Regions from separate parts of the Homo sapiens genome. Here region 2 is linked to region 1. Evidence: promoter capture Hi-C in human tissues and cell types (Jung and others, 2019). All regions are on one chromosome and are shown on one strand. The core of a region is centred on a gene start or on the middle of the fragment in contact, and the rest is flanking DNA. Distances in the headings are between cores, read along the strand shown. Region 1 holds the start of PGM2 (phosphoglucomutase 2). Region 2 overlaps TBC1D1 (TBC1 domain family member 1).

Evidence for each region. Contacts are between HindIII fragments. The study calls those that stand out against the background at their distance.
Region 2: a contact is called between a fragment that was not itself captured here and the fragment with the promoter of PGM2 in region 1, in 1 of the 25 tissues and cell types used here (spleen).

What each region holds. Positions count from the first base shown.
Region 1 is chr4:37,825,435-37,828,134 of GRCh38, reverse strand. PGM2 (phosphoglucomutase 2) reads right to left here and starts at 1,449. Exons shown (of 14, transcript NM_018290.4): 1 at 1,322-1,449. The coding sequence starts at 1,402. RefSeq lists enhancers at 777-1,276, 1,277-1,778 and a silencer at 1,267-1,566. The HindIII fragment of the contact is 14,611 bases long and covers 1-2,700 here.
Region 2 is chr4:38,084,961-38,087,685 of GRCh38, reverse strand. The region is part of intron 14 of TBC1D1 (TBC1 domain family member 1); the gene reads right to left. Among named protein-coding and RNA genes, the nearest start is that of PTTG2, 130 kb to the right of the region's middle. The HindIII fragment of the contact is 4,877 bases long and covers 1-2,725 here.

The sequences.
Region 1 (2,700 bases), core at 200-2,699:
ACGCCCCCAAGGAGTTGCCAATAGCATCCTGGAAATGGGATTTGCTGACATTTTATTTGTAGGGGCCAGAGAATGGTAAATAAAGACAAAGACCTGACCCCTACTGACCTTGTAATCTTCTTTGTTCATTCAAGTATTTCAGTGACCTACTATGTGTCATGCACTATGCCTATGCCAGGCACTACAAACCAAGGTAGTGAGAATAGAGAGGCCTGGCCACATAATTTATGGAGGTCCAGTGCACAATGAAAGTGGGTGACCTCTTGTTTTACCAGTAAGACTTTCAAGACAGGACAGCAGGACATTAAAACAACAGTGGGCCCTTCAAGGAGCGCGAGTCCTGTGAGACTGCAGGGGTCTCTCGCCCCTGAAGTCGGCCCTGGAGACAGACATTAAACAAACCTACAAACAAGTGTTTTTGGAGTTTTTTGTTTTTACCATTTGTAGTAAGAGCTATAAAGGAAAATAACAGACTGTTTAGAGTGAATATTAGGGATAAATAATTTAACGCTTCGGAGCCAAGGAAGGACTGACTCTCTACGTAAGCCACATTTAAGTTCAGGCACAAAATATGAGTCACAACGGGAGAAACAAGTTCAGCAGGAGAGCAGCGAGGGACATTCCGAGAAAACCTAACAGCAAGCAGAACAGGTCGAAAGGGCGAGACGCAAGTTTATAGAGAGGAGAGGGAGTGATGTCCAGAGCTGGGTTCCTGATTCTAAGAAACGGAATGAAGAGAGAGAAAACCGTGCTGTGTCCCAGGTGTGCCTCCCTGGCAGTCAAAGTTCTAAGGGGGACTCCTGAAGCCAGGCGGGCCCACCCGGGAGGACAACCCACGTTTGTAACCAAGCCCTCGGGATGGGAGGACCGGACCAGAACGCTGCTCTGCAAAGGTCTCAGCGGCCAAAGGAATACGCGGGACGGAGCGATTCTGGGTCCATGGGGATGCACAGCCGACTACCGACGACGAGCCAGCGGTCTGAGTGACAGTAAGGCGTGCGCCCCTCAACTAGACAGCGTCCAGGGTCTGGCCGCGCTTACACCACCCTGGCTCGCTCCTCTACTCCGAACTTGCAGTCCGGCCGGCCGGATGGCTGGTTTCGTCCGGGGACAAGCCTTCCCGGCCTAACTCTGAACGTGCCGCATGCCGGCCAGGTCGAAGGAAGCCTAGCAGCGGCCGTACGCTCCTGGGTCTTCCCGGGGGAGAAGCGGGATGCACTGGGCGGGAAGGCAGCTCAGGCAGAGCAAGCAGCGCCGCGCCTGGAGAGGGCAGAGCACCCGGCCCCGCTCCAGGCGCTCCCCGCCTGCTGGTGCCCCTCACCTTGTCCCAGCGCAGCCACTGGGCGGTCTCCTGGTCCAGCCGGGCGTCCTCGCCTAGACCGCTGCCTTCTGGAGCCGCCATCGCTGAGCTTGTGCTACCGCTGCAGAGGGAAGCAGGCGGTGAGATCTGCCTTCCGGCCCGGCCCCAAGACGTGGAGGCGGAGGCGGGGGCGGGGAGAGCCGCGGCGGAGCCAGTCGGTCCGGGGGAAAGTGACGCGCGCCGCGGCGGGCACGCCTCCTTGCCGTTTGCGGGTGCGCTGCAGGGGGTGGGAGTGAGCGAGGAGGAATTGCGGGGCTAGGGTGGGTTGCTGGAACCTGGCACGTGTGAGAAGGGTTTGCCATCGTCTCTGATGCATCCAGGCTACAGCCAGCCGTGAGTTCCTGCTGCGCGCCAGGCACATGTCAGATGCTGGGATACCAGGAAGTGCACCCAGATAGGGGCCTGAAGACTATGTAGAAACTCAGAGGGTCAAGAACAGCCAGAAAAAAATCTTGAAAAAGAAAAGCAAAGTAGGAAGACCAGTGGAACATAAGATAGAGACCAGAAACAAAAATACACGTGTATGGACAATTTATTTCAGAGGCGGGGCTGCAGAGCACAGGAAGGAACTATTTTTGGTTAATGGTGCTCGGTCAAAGGGATATCCACGTAGGGAAAAGAAAAAAGGGAACTTGGCCCCCTACCTCCCATCACACACAGCTCTGAACTCCAGATCAATTGTATCTCTAAGTGCGAAAGGTAGTGTAGCAGGAGGAGCCGCAGACAAAACTCCTCAGACACCGGATTAAAGAAGGAAGAGGTTTTTATTCGGCCGGGAGCGTCGGCAGACTCGCGTCTTAAGAGCCGAGCTCCCTGAAAAAGAAATTCCTAGCCATTTTAAGGGCTTACAACGCTAAGGGGTCTGTCTACGTGAAAGGGTCATGATAGATCAAGTAAGCGTGAGGAACGTGACTGGGGGCTACATACATCAGCTAACAGAACAAGAAGTTTTACAGTGCTTTCTCATACGATGTCTGGAATTTACGGATAACGCCAGTAGTTTTGGTCAGGGGTTAATATTATTATTATTATTTTAACCACCAGGGCCAGGTGGTGGCGCCAAGGTCGTCTAGCTATTTATCTTACTTCTGTTTTTTTCCAACTTTTTGCTTTCTCTCTTTTCTCCTGTCTTATAAACTAGGGAAAAGGGGAGGTGGGGGAGAAGCTGGGAAGGACAGCAGAAATGGTGGTCTCTTTCCATAGTAGCGTGAAACTTAGGGAAACTAACATAGGAGCACATCTTCCTGACGCTGGTATCACCAAGCCATAAAGAAGATGCATACCCATAAGCATAAAAAAGCACGGGCAAGAATATTTCTAGCAGCATTATTTGTAAAAGC
Region 2 (2,725 bases), core at 142-2,641, 260 kb before region 1:
ATTTTCAGTTGAGACGGGGTTTCACCATGTTGGCCAGACTGGTCTCGAACTCCTGACCTCAGGTGATCTGCCCACCTCGGCCTCCCAAAGTGCTAGAATTACAGGTGTGAGCCACCATGTCCAGCTGACTTGGATATTCTTAAACCCTACTAGTAAAACAAGGGCTCACCTCACCTAAACTCCTTCTTCTAATCTCATCCTTCCTGTTTACCACAGCCTTCCTCTTCCCAGGGTCTTGAAAATTCCTACTGTGTTCCTTTCAAATTCGGAATCACAATGAGCAGGTGTAACTCAGGCCAGGAGGATGGAACATTCCTAACAGTAGAGGCTGTTTGTCCCCAGATCCATGTACTCTCTGCCACTTGGGCTACTGACAAGGACCACTGTCTATAGAAGTTTATGAAACTCCGGTTTTATTTTAGTATTCAGAGAAACTGGATCTGCAAAAATACAAGTATTGTTTGGGGACGACAACTGTGAGATTTAAGACCTAAGCTGTCTCCCTAATGTTTTCTACTTTTGTGATCTTTTTCTTATTATCACTAGTGACAGTTTGTTGAGCTTTTACCATATGGGTTCTTGGCATAAATAAGCTTGTTTGATTCTTACAACAATCTCATAGGACAGGTGATATTATGATCTCCATTTTCCAGCTAAAACAAATAAGGTGCAGTGAGGTTTTATAACTTGGCCAAGGTCACACAGCTAGTAAGGGTCAGAGCCATAATAAGAAAAAAGGTGTATTTTCCTCCAAAGTAAAAAAAAGAAGAGTTTACCCCGTGCTTCTCTAACTTCTACATGCACAAGCCTCACTGGGGATCTTGCTAAATTAAAGATTTTGATTCAGCAAGTCTGAGGGGAGCATTTCCATCAAGCTCCCCAGTAATGCCTCCACTGCTGTTTCTCCAAGCACACTCTGAATAGCAGGGCTCCACGCTGCAGCTTTACTCTCTATTTCCTCATGCAACCCTATGCGCTTGCTAGCACGTCGGCTCATCTCCTTCACTCCCACCACTGAAAACACAGTTCAAATACTGTTGTTAGCTGCCTGAATTCAGGTCCTCAACACATGGCAGGAGCTTGTCCCAAATTTGGTCGGGGGATCCAGGCCAAGTCCAGAATACAAAGACATATTTGAGCACTAGTATTAATTTCACCTCTACATGAACTAAATAAAAGCTGATCCACTGTAAAGGTCAGCAAATAAACCCAAGAGTTTAAAGGAGGGTTTCTCAACCTCAGCACTACTGACATTTTGGGGCTGGATGATTCTTTGTCAGGAGGAACAGTTTTATACACTGTAGAATGTTTAGCAGAGGGCATAGTAGCATCTGCCCACCATCAATGCCTCTAGGCATTGCTAAATATCCCCTAGGGGTCAGGAGGAACAAAACCACCTCTAATAAGAACCTCTGATTCAGAGCTAAAATCTCACCATTTCGTCTCTCCTAAACCCTGGGAAGGGGCAAAAACGTATCTCTTTTATCCAAATTCATTTCACGTGGTAACAATTACTGATTTTTTTATAGTTTACGATTAACAACAAATTTGTATAATATTTTTTGTTCATATTAAGAGTAGCCTGGCTACAAAATAGCTCAGTAATTTATAAAGGGAGATAGTTAAAAATCTTTGTTCTAAATTTGGCCTGCTGAATCAGTCCAAAGAAAGTAAGCTGCTTTCTCAACAATGCAAAAAGATCCAGACTGGGCACAAGGCTTTGGTTTGTAATCAGTCCTCCTTCAGGCGTGTGCAGTCTTGAGAGATGTGGACTCGAGTGGAGTGGCAGGTCAAGGAGAACAAAATCAAAGTCTGAGGCAACTGTCAGCTAAGAACCTTGTTCTAATGATAAACCGGGGCACTGTTTTCACTTGCATCATTCCTAAGCCAATCCTACCAGCATTGAGTCCCTTACATGTATGCAGCGATGCAATGCGTTAGGTGGTCTAAGGAGGGCTACTCTGAGGTTTCTACTCTCTAGAACAATCCCAGGGATCCGGCTTCTCTCCCCGACTTGCATTCTTGCTGAGAGACAGCTGCACAGAGGCCAGTGTAGGAAGCTTGGCTTGGCTCAGTGCAGCGGAGGCTGAGCCGAAGGAGGGGCTGCTCTACCTCATGGGCCAACTGTGTTGGTGCCTCTTGGGAAAACATATGCCTTCTGGGTTCCAGTCCCCCAGTGTAAAATGTGAGAAATGATATTCACCGCCGACTGCCCAACTGTAGAGACCACAGGCACTGACAGGCATATTTATAAAGTCGGCAAAGCCACCAAACCAAAGGGCTGCGATAACAACTTAGTCCAGGATTAGATTTTACTATTCTGACATCTCCTATAATGACGGATGTGGAGCACTTAAATTATGTAGCCTTTCAGAAACAATAGCCTCCAATGGGTTCTAAGAATTTTAAAACCAGTCATAATTCAGGAGGCCTTGGAGACAACTGCCTCCTATTAAATCATTGCTGTGACACTCCCAACAGAGTCATAAATATGATCTATGCTGGTATGTCGATATTTTAGATGCCAAATTATTCCCCAACAACTCTGTGCTGTTGCATTCTTTCTATCTGCACACAAATGTGTGGGGAAGAGGATGACATTGCATCATTGTTATGAACAGAATCAATGCCATGATCGAGAAAGACAAAAAGCAACGTGCACACCACCTCCTATCTGCCCAGTATCTGGCTCTCTCAAGTGCAGAATACAGGGCTTCTTTCTTGC